Regions from separate parts of the Homo sapiens genome. Here regions 1 and 3 are each linked to region 2. Evidence: promoter capture Hi-C in 16 types of primary human blood cells and fetal thymus (Javierre and others, 2016). All regions are on one chromosome and are shown on one strand. The core of a region is centred on a gene start or on the middle of the fragment in contact, and the rest is flanking DNA. Distances in the headings are between cores, read along the strand shown.

Region 1 (3,496 bases), core at 451-2,950, 260 kb after region 2:
TGAAACTCATGGGCTCAAGTGATCTCATCTCAACCTCCCTATTAGCTAGGACTATAGGTGTGCAACACCATGCCTGGCTAATTAAATTTTTTTTTGTAGAGACAGGGTCTTGCTATGTTGCCCAGGCTGGTCTTGAACTCATGGCTTCAAGTGATCCTCCTGCCTCAGTCTCCAAAGCATTGGGATTACAGGCATGAACCACTGTGCCTAACATGATCCATTTTTTAAGAAAGGCCATTTCTGTTCTCTTGACTTATTCCCTAGCCTTCACTTATGTTTATGGGACAACTCTCAGTGCACCCCTAATTTCTATTTACTTGCTTGCCTGCTTTACTTACCATCCAGGCTCGCTGAATACCACTACCCTTGGTTGGTATGGCACAAAATGATATTTCTAATCTTTCTACTGTATTAGTAAACTGTTTAACATGATAAACTTCTTGAATTTCTAGTAATTGAGAATTTTAGGGTTTGGGTTCCATGAAACAAGTAATCACAAAGAAGACTATGTATTATTTAAATTTCATAACAAAATTTATGAAGAGTTTACTTATGTTGAAAAGGGTTATGTACAAAGGTAAAATTGAAAACCTTTCATCTTTTTGGGTATTAAATTTCTGATCATATTAGTAGAAAAAGAATCTCATTTATTGCAAACTTAATTTGTGCCACAAGGATCATTAGCTGTGATATCAGTGTGGCCACATCATAGTATGAGCAAATCATCACTTCCTTCTTTAGAAAAAAGTACAACAGTATAAAAATATGTTGGAAAAACAAAGGCTGTAGTTTTGGTTTACATATTCTAACAAGTTAAACCTGAAATATCGATATAATCTTAGAAACTCTAGTATGATAACCTCACAATAATTAAACATATTAAGGAGCAACAACTTTATATATATTTTGTAAATAACTTCTCCCAAGTTATATCAACACAGATTTATCAAAAGGATATTAGCATCAACTTAAACTTGATAATATTGCCCCTTTGCTGGTAGCTCTGTTTAGCTGACTGGGGTTTGTCTGGATAGCAATTAAGGCTCTCAGTTTAGAAAGCCTGATAAGGTTACCATCATTTCTAATAGCTATATTGTTTGGGCCATTGTTTTTGCCTATAGATAGTAATCCTCTTGCAAGGCTTAAACATTAATCTAATCTTCCCTTTATGCAGCCTCTAGGTCATCTTAGGTTGAATCTGTACTCATAATACTTTATTTGTGTCACAATATCCTATGACCCAAATCTTTCTTGAAAAGCTGCAAAATCCAAGAAATGGGGAAAATGGCAATATTATTAGTTGGCAATGGCACACATTTTCCTTTACAGAACTTTGAATTATGCCTTTTTAGCAGATTTATGATCACGCAGGGCACTGAGTCTTGCACAGCTGTGGTTTAACCTCAAGTACTTTTGTCACATTTTGTTTTTTTTTATAAAATGTGTTTCAATTCTGACATTTAGAAGATTGCAGCTTTGAAGAATTTGTGTGGACCTTCTGCAAGCATTTTATTTTGCTAATGAACTAAAATTGATCTCTGTAATTGAAAGATAATGATACTATTTGAGTGTAATGACTAAATACCAAGTGAAATTTTGCACAGATGAAATTCTACACAACCCTGGATATAATATGACTGCTTTATGTTAATTGTGAAATCACATTGTATAGCTTCTCTAAATTGTTTAATTACTAAAGTATAATAATAGATGAAATGAGCAGTGGGAAGGATGATAGACTGGACGCCTGCAGACTTGAGTTCCAATCTGGACATGTGAAACCTTGAGCAAGTCCCTTAATTTCCTTGGGACTCAGTTTTTACCTATAGACTTGGTAGAACAAGGTTATTTAAGGTCTCTTGCAGCTCTTCCATCTTTATGAATCTGAATCCCACCAAATTGATTTTTCATAGTCAGTAAAAAATCTGAACAAAGCTGAACTGTGAAATTTTTGACAAGCATTAACAGGATTGAACATGTTTTAGACGCTCAGTGTTCTGTAGGAGAAAAGAACAGTTAAGAACTACCCCCATCCCTAACCCACCCTATACATAACTGGTGTTTCTTTAAATTTGAAACTGCAATTTCCAGTTACTCTAAACTGGTTTTGTACTTCTTGTGGTAAGGACAGATAGAGAATGCTCCAACCTATCATTTCACAGGGCATGTTGCACTTTATAAACAGTAACGAACAGTGGGTTGGGTGGGAGATCTGGATCAGTTTGGGTGGTGTATAGTCCAGACTACACTAGATTTATCTTCGATACAGGCTCACAAATCTTACTGAGATTTTTTTCCCCCTGGGGAGTAAGAAAATAAGAGATGCAGAAAAACCCAACTGCTGGCAATACCAGGGAACCTGCTTTATTAAATTTTCCCCAGGGAGGTTCATTATTAAGCTCTGAAATATAAAATCTTACTATAAATGGCAGATGGGGACTTGTACTCTCTTTATTTGTAATATGCATATTTTACTAATTTCCTACTAAAATCAAACTTACCGATTCTCTCCCTCTCTCTCTCTCTCTCTCACACACACACACACACACACACACACACACACACACTTCTCTGTAGAATTTTGTGGGTGGACACGGAATATTAAATTGTACAGAGAATGTTCACATTCTCCTTGAAACAAAGATTAATGGAGGTTCTTACGTACCATTTGTATTGCCTTTGCATTTCTAGAGTCTATGTAAGATACCCGTGATGAAAACATCAGAGAGAAGATTTTAGAAACAGGTAAAACAGAGTTGCTGTTTTACCTGTTTACCAGAAAATATCTAGCTTTATTTTTACTGAGGGATAAAAATACTTTATGCACATACATTTGAAATGAAAAGGTATAAATAAAAATGCAGTTGTAGAACAGAAAACCTGAAATAATAGATTATAATTTATTTGCTTTAGTATTCACAGGAGGTTAGTTTTTAGCTGTTTACATTAATATTACGTTTTTTTTTGTCAGGTAACCTCTGAGTCACAATATTTGATCACACTTAACACTGTTTTTAAAGGACAGAATTTAGGGTTTTTTTTTTGTTTGTTTTTAATAAATAGTATTCTATTGTCCTGAAAAAAGAATGATGTTATCATAGGCTTTTGTTCTGAACAAACTAATTCCCTGTTTGCCACTCATAATTTTTTAAAAATTATGATTAAAACACTAAATAATTCAGTTTAATTTACACAGAGCGAAATACATTTTTTTTGCTATAATTCAGAAATGTCAAGCCATTAAAGGGTTTTCGTAGGCAGAACCTGAAAAAGAAATGAGAAAGGAAGCGCCTAGAATGGCAAAAGATGTTGGGATTAGGAGGCTATTAATGGAGGGCCTAGAAGAAATAACAGTGAACACAAAATGTTGGTTTAGGCATGAAGTAAGCCCAGGAACACACTGGATGCACCTGCAATCACAGCAAAACCTATGTTAGTTTTTCTGTGATTGGGTTGGCTTTTCTGAAAAACAGGGATAATGGTAGAAAAATAAGTA
Region 2 (3,480 bases), core at 38-2,537:
CACAGAACAATTCAGACAAACTTTTTAAAAAAGTCTTCTCCTGCAGTTTTTTTTTGTGGCGCTGGGAAGCACAGTGCCTATCCCTGCTAATAAAAGAAAACTATTGCAATGCAAAACTCCTAACCTTTGCAGAGGCACTTACCAGAAAACCAAAAACATACTCTTTGAAAAACAATTTAAAACCAAGCTTCAAAGGCTTTCTAATGTATAAATATTCAGACATTCTGAAAAGCACTGCTCTGCACCCTGCACCCCAGCTATTTGTGCCTAAAATGGATATTGTCGTAACAGTTAGCATGGTTGTCAAAGTGCAACGTCTCTAATATCAACACTGAGAGACATCAGACTCATTAAAATGCTTTACATTCATTAATTAGGTTGGTGCAAAAGTAGTTGCGGCTTTTGCCAAAGTCATACATAAATTCAAACACATTATGATACTCATTTAACACATTTGTGATAAAAATCATGTATGAAGTCATGAGTTTATTTAATAAGCTAATATTCCATAGAGTCCAATGGTGACTACCAATGACTCAGTTAATTTTCAAACCAAAATAAGTTAGATTACAATTTGTTGACTCCCTTGACTCCTCGAGCCAGGGAAAACATTTCCTGGGGCCTGACTCTAGGTGGCTCACTTCCCTCACCTAAAAACAGGAAGGGTGAGACAACCCCCTCCAACCCTCGTCCTCGGTCCCCCAAGGATTTCTCTCCAGAATTCTGCCTCTTCTGCAGCAGTCTGGAGTCTTCAGCATGAAAAGGGTAACAAACATGGCGCAATTTTCTGAAACCGTGATGTCAACAGTGTTTTTGAGGTGTCCTTTCCCACCCTAAAGAAAATTCGAGATGCACAGCAAGAAAAAAATGCAAGACAGCTCCCCGACACATCCTGAGCCACGCCTCGTCCTCAGGGTGCACCCGACAGTCTCTGCCAGCGCAGTGTGGACGCTGGACAAAGACGCAGCCAGTAGGTCGCTGGTGGTCGCGGGTTGGATCCGCTGACTTGGCCACCAAATCTTTTCCTCGGGGAGTGAAGCGGCACGGAAGGAGCGGAGTCAAGGGCGGGGCTGGGGATTGGACCCGCCCCCGGGCCCGGGGATTGGACCCGCCCCCGGGCCCCGGAGGAGTCCCTGCGCCTGCGTGCCGGGCGTGGACCTGTGGTTGGACTCCCCCGTTTTGGGCTGCCCTCCGCGTCCTCCCCCGCCCCTTCCCACCTCCGCCCACTTGACGCGATGACGCATCTCAGGTTTGCGGACGTGGCGGCGGCGTACGGCCCGGAAGGCGGAGACGTTGGCGGCAGAGGCGGAGGCGGACGGGGTCAGCCCAAAGCAGAGGCTCGGCCATGAACTTACCCGGGACAGCGGCGGCGGCGGACCTTTTGGCCATCTTCTCGCAGAGTGCTCCCTGCTAACGGGGACAGGTAAAGATGGTGGCAGGAGGTGAGGGTAGCCCGGTCCAGGAGGGCGGGGTTGAGCCCCAGCTGCGTCCTCACGGGAGGCGCTGAGCCTCGGCCACAGGTGTGGTGGGGGCTGCAGGGCCGGGCTCGGCCCGTGTGGCGGACACCCCCGAGACAGGGAAGAACTTCCAGACCAGCCCTGCCAGGCCCTCTTGTCACACTGTCGGGGAAACTGAGGCTCAGAGGAAGGACGCCTACCTGCTGGATTACCTGGGCAGCTAATTTCCCACCCAAACACAGCATTTCTCCCACGACTTTATGTTGGCGTGAAATATTCGCTGACGGCATCTTGTCACATCGTTCAAGTGTCATGCTGTGACAGAAGACTCTGAGACGTAATCTTCGCTGACGATAGCAGGGAAAGAAAAACTTGACGTGTGGAATACAGAGGGAGGAGGTAGTTAAGTTTTAAAAAACAAAATTGTCCCTGGCAGCGGATAGGGTGCCTTTGATTCTGTCCCTTTGCAGCTTTAACTTGTGCCCTGTGACCCTCTTATTGCACCTTGCTTAGTTAAAGAAGGTCAAGGCGAAACACCCAGCAGCCATTCTACAGTACGAAGGTGTTTGGGAAACCGTTTTCAGTTACAGACTGAGCTGAAGAATGCTTTAACACTGTTTTGTGGCCCCTCGTAATCTAGGTAGCACGCAGGCTTGTTCCAAGTTTCTGAAAGGGAGTTCGTGCCTTTTTCCTGCTCTAAGAGAATTAAGAGAGGTGAATAGAATTGAGCCAGATGACTTAAATATTATGTATTTTCTAATCTCTGAGTAGTAGACTGGAGTGATCGCCTGGGTCAGTCTGTTCACTTCGGTTGAAGACACAGCCAGTTCTTGATCATTCAGAATACCCAGATTTGTAACACGATAGTCAGCTGCCTGCATTTCATTATAAAGGGGAGTGGAGAGATAGTGAGACAGGTGAAGTTCTGACCTTTAAATTATATTTAGAAATATATCGTGGAGAGAGGTTGATAGAAACAAGTATCTAAAATGGCTTTGGGGCATTGCTTAGTGATTTTCAGTTAGCTGCACTACTAAGCCAATTTTGAAGTTCTAAGTACAAATTATTAGGGTGAAACTGTCTAACAAGACACATAAGTAGGTCGGTATAGCCAAGTGTAAATTGCTGTATATTAAGTCTTAACTTTTTTGATCATGGATGCCTTTTGAGAATATGAAGCAATGAAAATTCTCCCCAGAAAAATATACATATGTATAAAATTTGCCTGGAATCTACAGGATTCAAAGACATTCCCTAGGTTAAAGACACAAGATTAAAAAAAGACCTGGTTAAATGAGTGGAAATAAAACTGTTATCCTTGGAGGAAAAGATGTGGTCATGACTTCAAAACTGCTTTTGAGATATAAAATGTGATAGTTTTCTTTAGTTTCATAGCTGTCAAGTTAGGAATCCTAGTTCTTGGTAATAATGTAGCACTTCAGAGAACAGTTGAAATAATCTACTTAACATATAGCTATTAGTTATCTGTGTTATCTGAATAGGAACTCTTGAGCTTTTAAAGCATTATAATATTGCCATTAGAGCAAGGTCAGAAAGTGCTTTTCAAGGGTTGGATTCAACTATATTAAATAGTTTTAAAGCATTTTATGATAAGTATATGCCTAGAAAGTACAGGTTGGGTAGTCCTTACCTGAAATGCTTGAGACCGGAAGTGTTTCAGATTTCTTTGGATTTTGGAATGTTTGCATATACATAATAAGATACATTGGGGATGGGACCTGTCTGAACATGAAATTTGTGTTTCATATTCAACTTATACACATAGTCGGAAGGTAATTTTATATGATTTGTGCACAAAAGTTCTTGTACCTGGAACCATCAGCAGGTAAAAGTGTCACTATCTCAGCCACCCTTGTGGAAAATTTGTGGTTGTTTGGCATCACCGTCATTCCTAACTCTGAATTTGTATGCTACTAATAAGCAGTCATTTTCTTACACTTTTTCACACATAAGTGCTTAACAGTAAAAAAAAAAAAAAAAATACCATTAATACAGTGAAAAA
Region 3 (3,425 bases), core at 342-2,841, 260 kb before region 2:
TAACCAATTTTAATTTAGAGAGATAGCTAGAGGTTGATGCTGATGAGAGAGCCCAAAGATGTTTAAATAAAGCCTCTGTTTCTCTGAAAACTCACGTAACTTTAGTTTATCAAAAACTTTAATTAACTAGAACATGCAGTTTCCCTGTCCCTCTTAACCACATTTGTTAGGCAAACTGGTACTTTGAAAAATCAAATGAAAAGTAATACCATAATCTCTCCAAAGGTGCCCTTGACTCTTCTGACAAAGAAGGTAATGAGCAGGGGCCCTTCCAGAGCCAGAGGCTCTGAATAAGTCTTCTTAGACAAAGTTTCAGGAGCAAACTGAACAACTCCATTTGGGTCACCAAACTCTTGTATCTAAAAAATATAAACAACAGAGAAAATAATTTATAAAACAATAGGGATGAAATTATAGTATCCAACATATTAACAAACAGAGAAGCTGAGGAAATGAAAGAAACATAAAAATGACACTTGAATATACTCTACTTAGCTACCTAATTTTTGAAAACTTCTTTATCACATTGACTGTTACCTAAAACAAGTAGGTTCTTATTCCCCAAAGATGATGGGAATAAGAATCCAGAAAACTCCCATTTGTAGAATCCCAAGAGAATAGTAATTTGATGCCTGAATTTCGCTTTATTCATCTCATATTTACTACATTTAATCAGTTAATTTTAGCTAAATTCTTCCTACTAGCTATGATATACATGGAGTGAAGCAAACAGGCCCTGTGAGGACTAATTTTGTGTATCAGCTTGCCAAGACTATAGTGCCCAGTTGTTTGGTCAAACGCTCATCTAGATGTCACTGTGAAGGTATTTTGGAGATATGATGAATACTTACAATCAGCTGACTGTACGTAAAGGAGATCACCCTCAAGAATGTGAATGGGCCTCATCTAAACAACTGAAGGCCTTAAGAGCAAAAACTGAGGTTTCCTGGAGAAAAAGGAATTCTGCCTCAAGACTGTAACTTAGGAATCCTGCTTGAGTTTTTAGCTTACTGAACTGCTCTGCTCCACAAAACTGCAACTTCAACTCTTTCCTGAGTTTCCTTCCTGCCAGCCTATTTCATGGATTTTGGACTTGCCAGCCCTCACAATCATGTGAGTCTGTTCCTTCAAATCTCTCTCTCTCCCTCCACCCTGCTGTGTGTGTGAGTGTGTGTGTGTGTGTGTGTGTGTGTGTGTCTGTGTCTGTGTGCATGTCTGTCCTACTGGTTTTGTTTCTCAGGAAAACTCTGACTGATATAGATCTCAAATAAGAGTATTTTACAAACTTCAAAAAAATGGGTCATCCCTCTGCATTATTTTCAGTAGTCTTGGTCCCAGCACTTTTTGCCTTAACTAAACAAGTACCATTTTTTCCTTCAAACTATCTGGAATATAACTAGTTAATAATTTTTACATTCCCTGAAGACAAAGATATCCAATGTTTGGTATGCTATAACAAATACCTCTGCTCTAAAACTGTCAAATATTCCAAAAACACCAAATTTTCTCCAAGCTTATAAAATAAGTATCATATACTAAAATGTTTTTAAAAAAAATATTACCAATAATCAGGCTATGCAATGAGCTGACATGAAAACCAAAAAGTTTGACCCTTCAGAATTATTATGATATTATTTGGTTTTATAATTTCCAATTTATCACAAGCTTATAGAGTTTCAACAAATGTAAATGTATTTTCTGATAAATCCATGAAATCCACATTTTGTGAGAAAAATAAAGCCATACATACGGTTAATGTAACATCTTTAGCTCTGGAGTCTAATTTAGCTTCTCCTTTCACAAGATGAAGTTTAATAATGAATGTCTCTTCAACTTCAATTTCTTCATGAGGATAGATTGTCAGAATTATGGTTCTCACTCCTCCTTCTCCTTCTCCAAAATAGAACAACCCGCTCACTGGGTCTGCAATGTCTCTATTCTGTGGCAGTAAGGCTTCTTGAGAGTTGGGTCCTACTGTCTCCCAGTTCACCTGCGGGATGTTTTTGGTTTTGGTATTTCTTTAATAGAGATCAATTTTAAGCAAAAAACTATTTCAGGGTATCTAGTATTAAGAAAATATATACACATATAGGAAAATTATTCTAGGATAATTCCATCAAATTCCTGTTTCATAAACTTGTTTTTTTTTGTTAAAAATAATGATATTTGCAGCTGGGTGTGGTGGCTCACGCCTGTGATCCCAACACTTTGGGAGGCCGAGGCGGGCAGATCACCTGAGATCAGGAGTTTGAGACCAACCTGGCCAACATGGTGAAACCCCGTCTCTACTAAAATTACAAAAATTAGCCGGGCGTGGTGGCAGGCGCCTGTAATTCCAGCTACTCGGAGCTGAAACAGGAGAATTGCTTGAACCTGGGAGGCGGAGGTTGCAGTGAGCCAAGATCACGCCACTGCACTCCAGCCTAGGCAACAAAGAGCGAAACTCCATCTCAAAAAAAAAAAAAAAAAAGAAAGAAAGAAAGACAAAAAGATATTTGCAACTATAAACTACATACCTATAGTATTCATGAATAATTTGTCATCACATAGGATAAAAACATATAAAAATCTATATTAAAATACGTATTAGAGAAATATAAACATTTTAAAAATATATAAGTACAATACTGTCCTGCTGTGTGCACAGGCTGTGCCAATCAAAACCTATATAAATAAGACAACAAAACCATGGAAAAACTCTGCTGTAGACCATGCAAAAATGCTAAATCTACTTATATTCCTAGTGTAAAAGACACGGAAATCTTCATACATTGTTATAAGAAACAAAGTTTTCTACATTTCTATGATTTGAAATGGTATGCCTCTCACACAATCTACAAAGAAAGAACATTGGGCACTTGTTTTTGCTTCTTAATCTTTCATCAGCAGCCCTCCAGCTGACTATTTCCTTCTTGAAACACCATGTCCTGTCGTCTTGGCTTATGTGATACTCATGTGCCACCTGCTTTCCTAGTTTTCCTCCTCCTTTACTTCTCAAGCTTCTCTGCTGGTTCTCCTTCCTCTGATCTCTAAATGGTGGAAGCTCAGGACTCAGCACCATATCCTTCCTGTTTCCAGATATGCCCCTTAGGCCCCACGTGTTCAAACACCTCCCCATGTGTCAACATCTTCCAGACCTGCATCTGCAGCCCTGACCACCCCACAACACACAGTCGCATGCTGCCCTGCCTATGTGACCACCCTCCCCTGGGATGTCAGTAGTATCTCAGAAGAACACGCCCAAAACAGAACTCTTAATTTCTCCTTGAGCTTCTGCATCTTAGTAAACAACCCTACAAATTATCCAGCTGCTCAAACTTAAATTCAAGGAGTTATCCTTGATTCCTGTCTTTCCCTCAGCCTCTACTTCTAGCCCAATGAATTTTTCTTCCAAATATCAATGTATACCCACTTCTCGCCATCTT

Evidence for each region. The method cuts DNA at HindIII sites, captures the fragments that hold promoters and counts their contacts. A CHiCAGO score of 5 or more calls a contact.
Region 1: a contact is called between a fragment that was not itself captured here and the fragment with the promoter of LYSMD3 in region 2, in 1 of 17 cell types (fetal thymus). The highest score is 5.1, in fetal thymus.
Region 3: a fragment that was not itself captured here is called in contact with the fragment with the promoter of LYSMD3 in region 2 in 1 of 17 cell types (megakaryocytes); the score reaches 7.6 in megakaryocytes.

The regions. Positions count from the first base shown.
Region 1 is chr5:90,268,423-90,271,918 of GRCh38, reverse strand. All of the region lies in intron 1 of LINC01339 (long intergenic non-protein coding RNA 1339), which reads left to right. Among named protein-coding and RNA genes, the nearest start is that of LINC01339, 20 kb to the left of the region's middle. The HindIII fragment of the contact is 8,813 bases long and covers 1-3,496 here.
Region 2 is chr5:90,527,391-90,530,870 of GRCh38, reverse strand. It overlaps LYSMD3 (LysM domain containing 3), which reads left to right and starts at 1,287. Exons shown (of 3, transcript NM_198273.2): 1 at 1,287-1,423. RefSeq lists enhancers at 631-890, 1,516-2,016 and a silencer at 1,001-1,250. The HindIII fragment of the contact is 4,420 bases long and covers 190-3,480 here.
Region 3 is chr5:90,786,636-90,790,060 of GRCh38, reverse strand. It overlaps ADGRV1 (adhesion G protein-coupled receptor V1), which reads right to left. Exons shown (of 90, transcript NM_032119.4): 68 at 1,751-1,990; 69 at 210-359. Among named protein-coding and RNA genes, the nearest start is that of ADGRV1, 230 kb to the right of the region's middle. The HindIII fragment of the contact is 152 bases long and covers 1,516-1,667 here.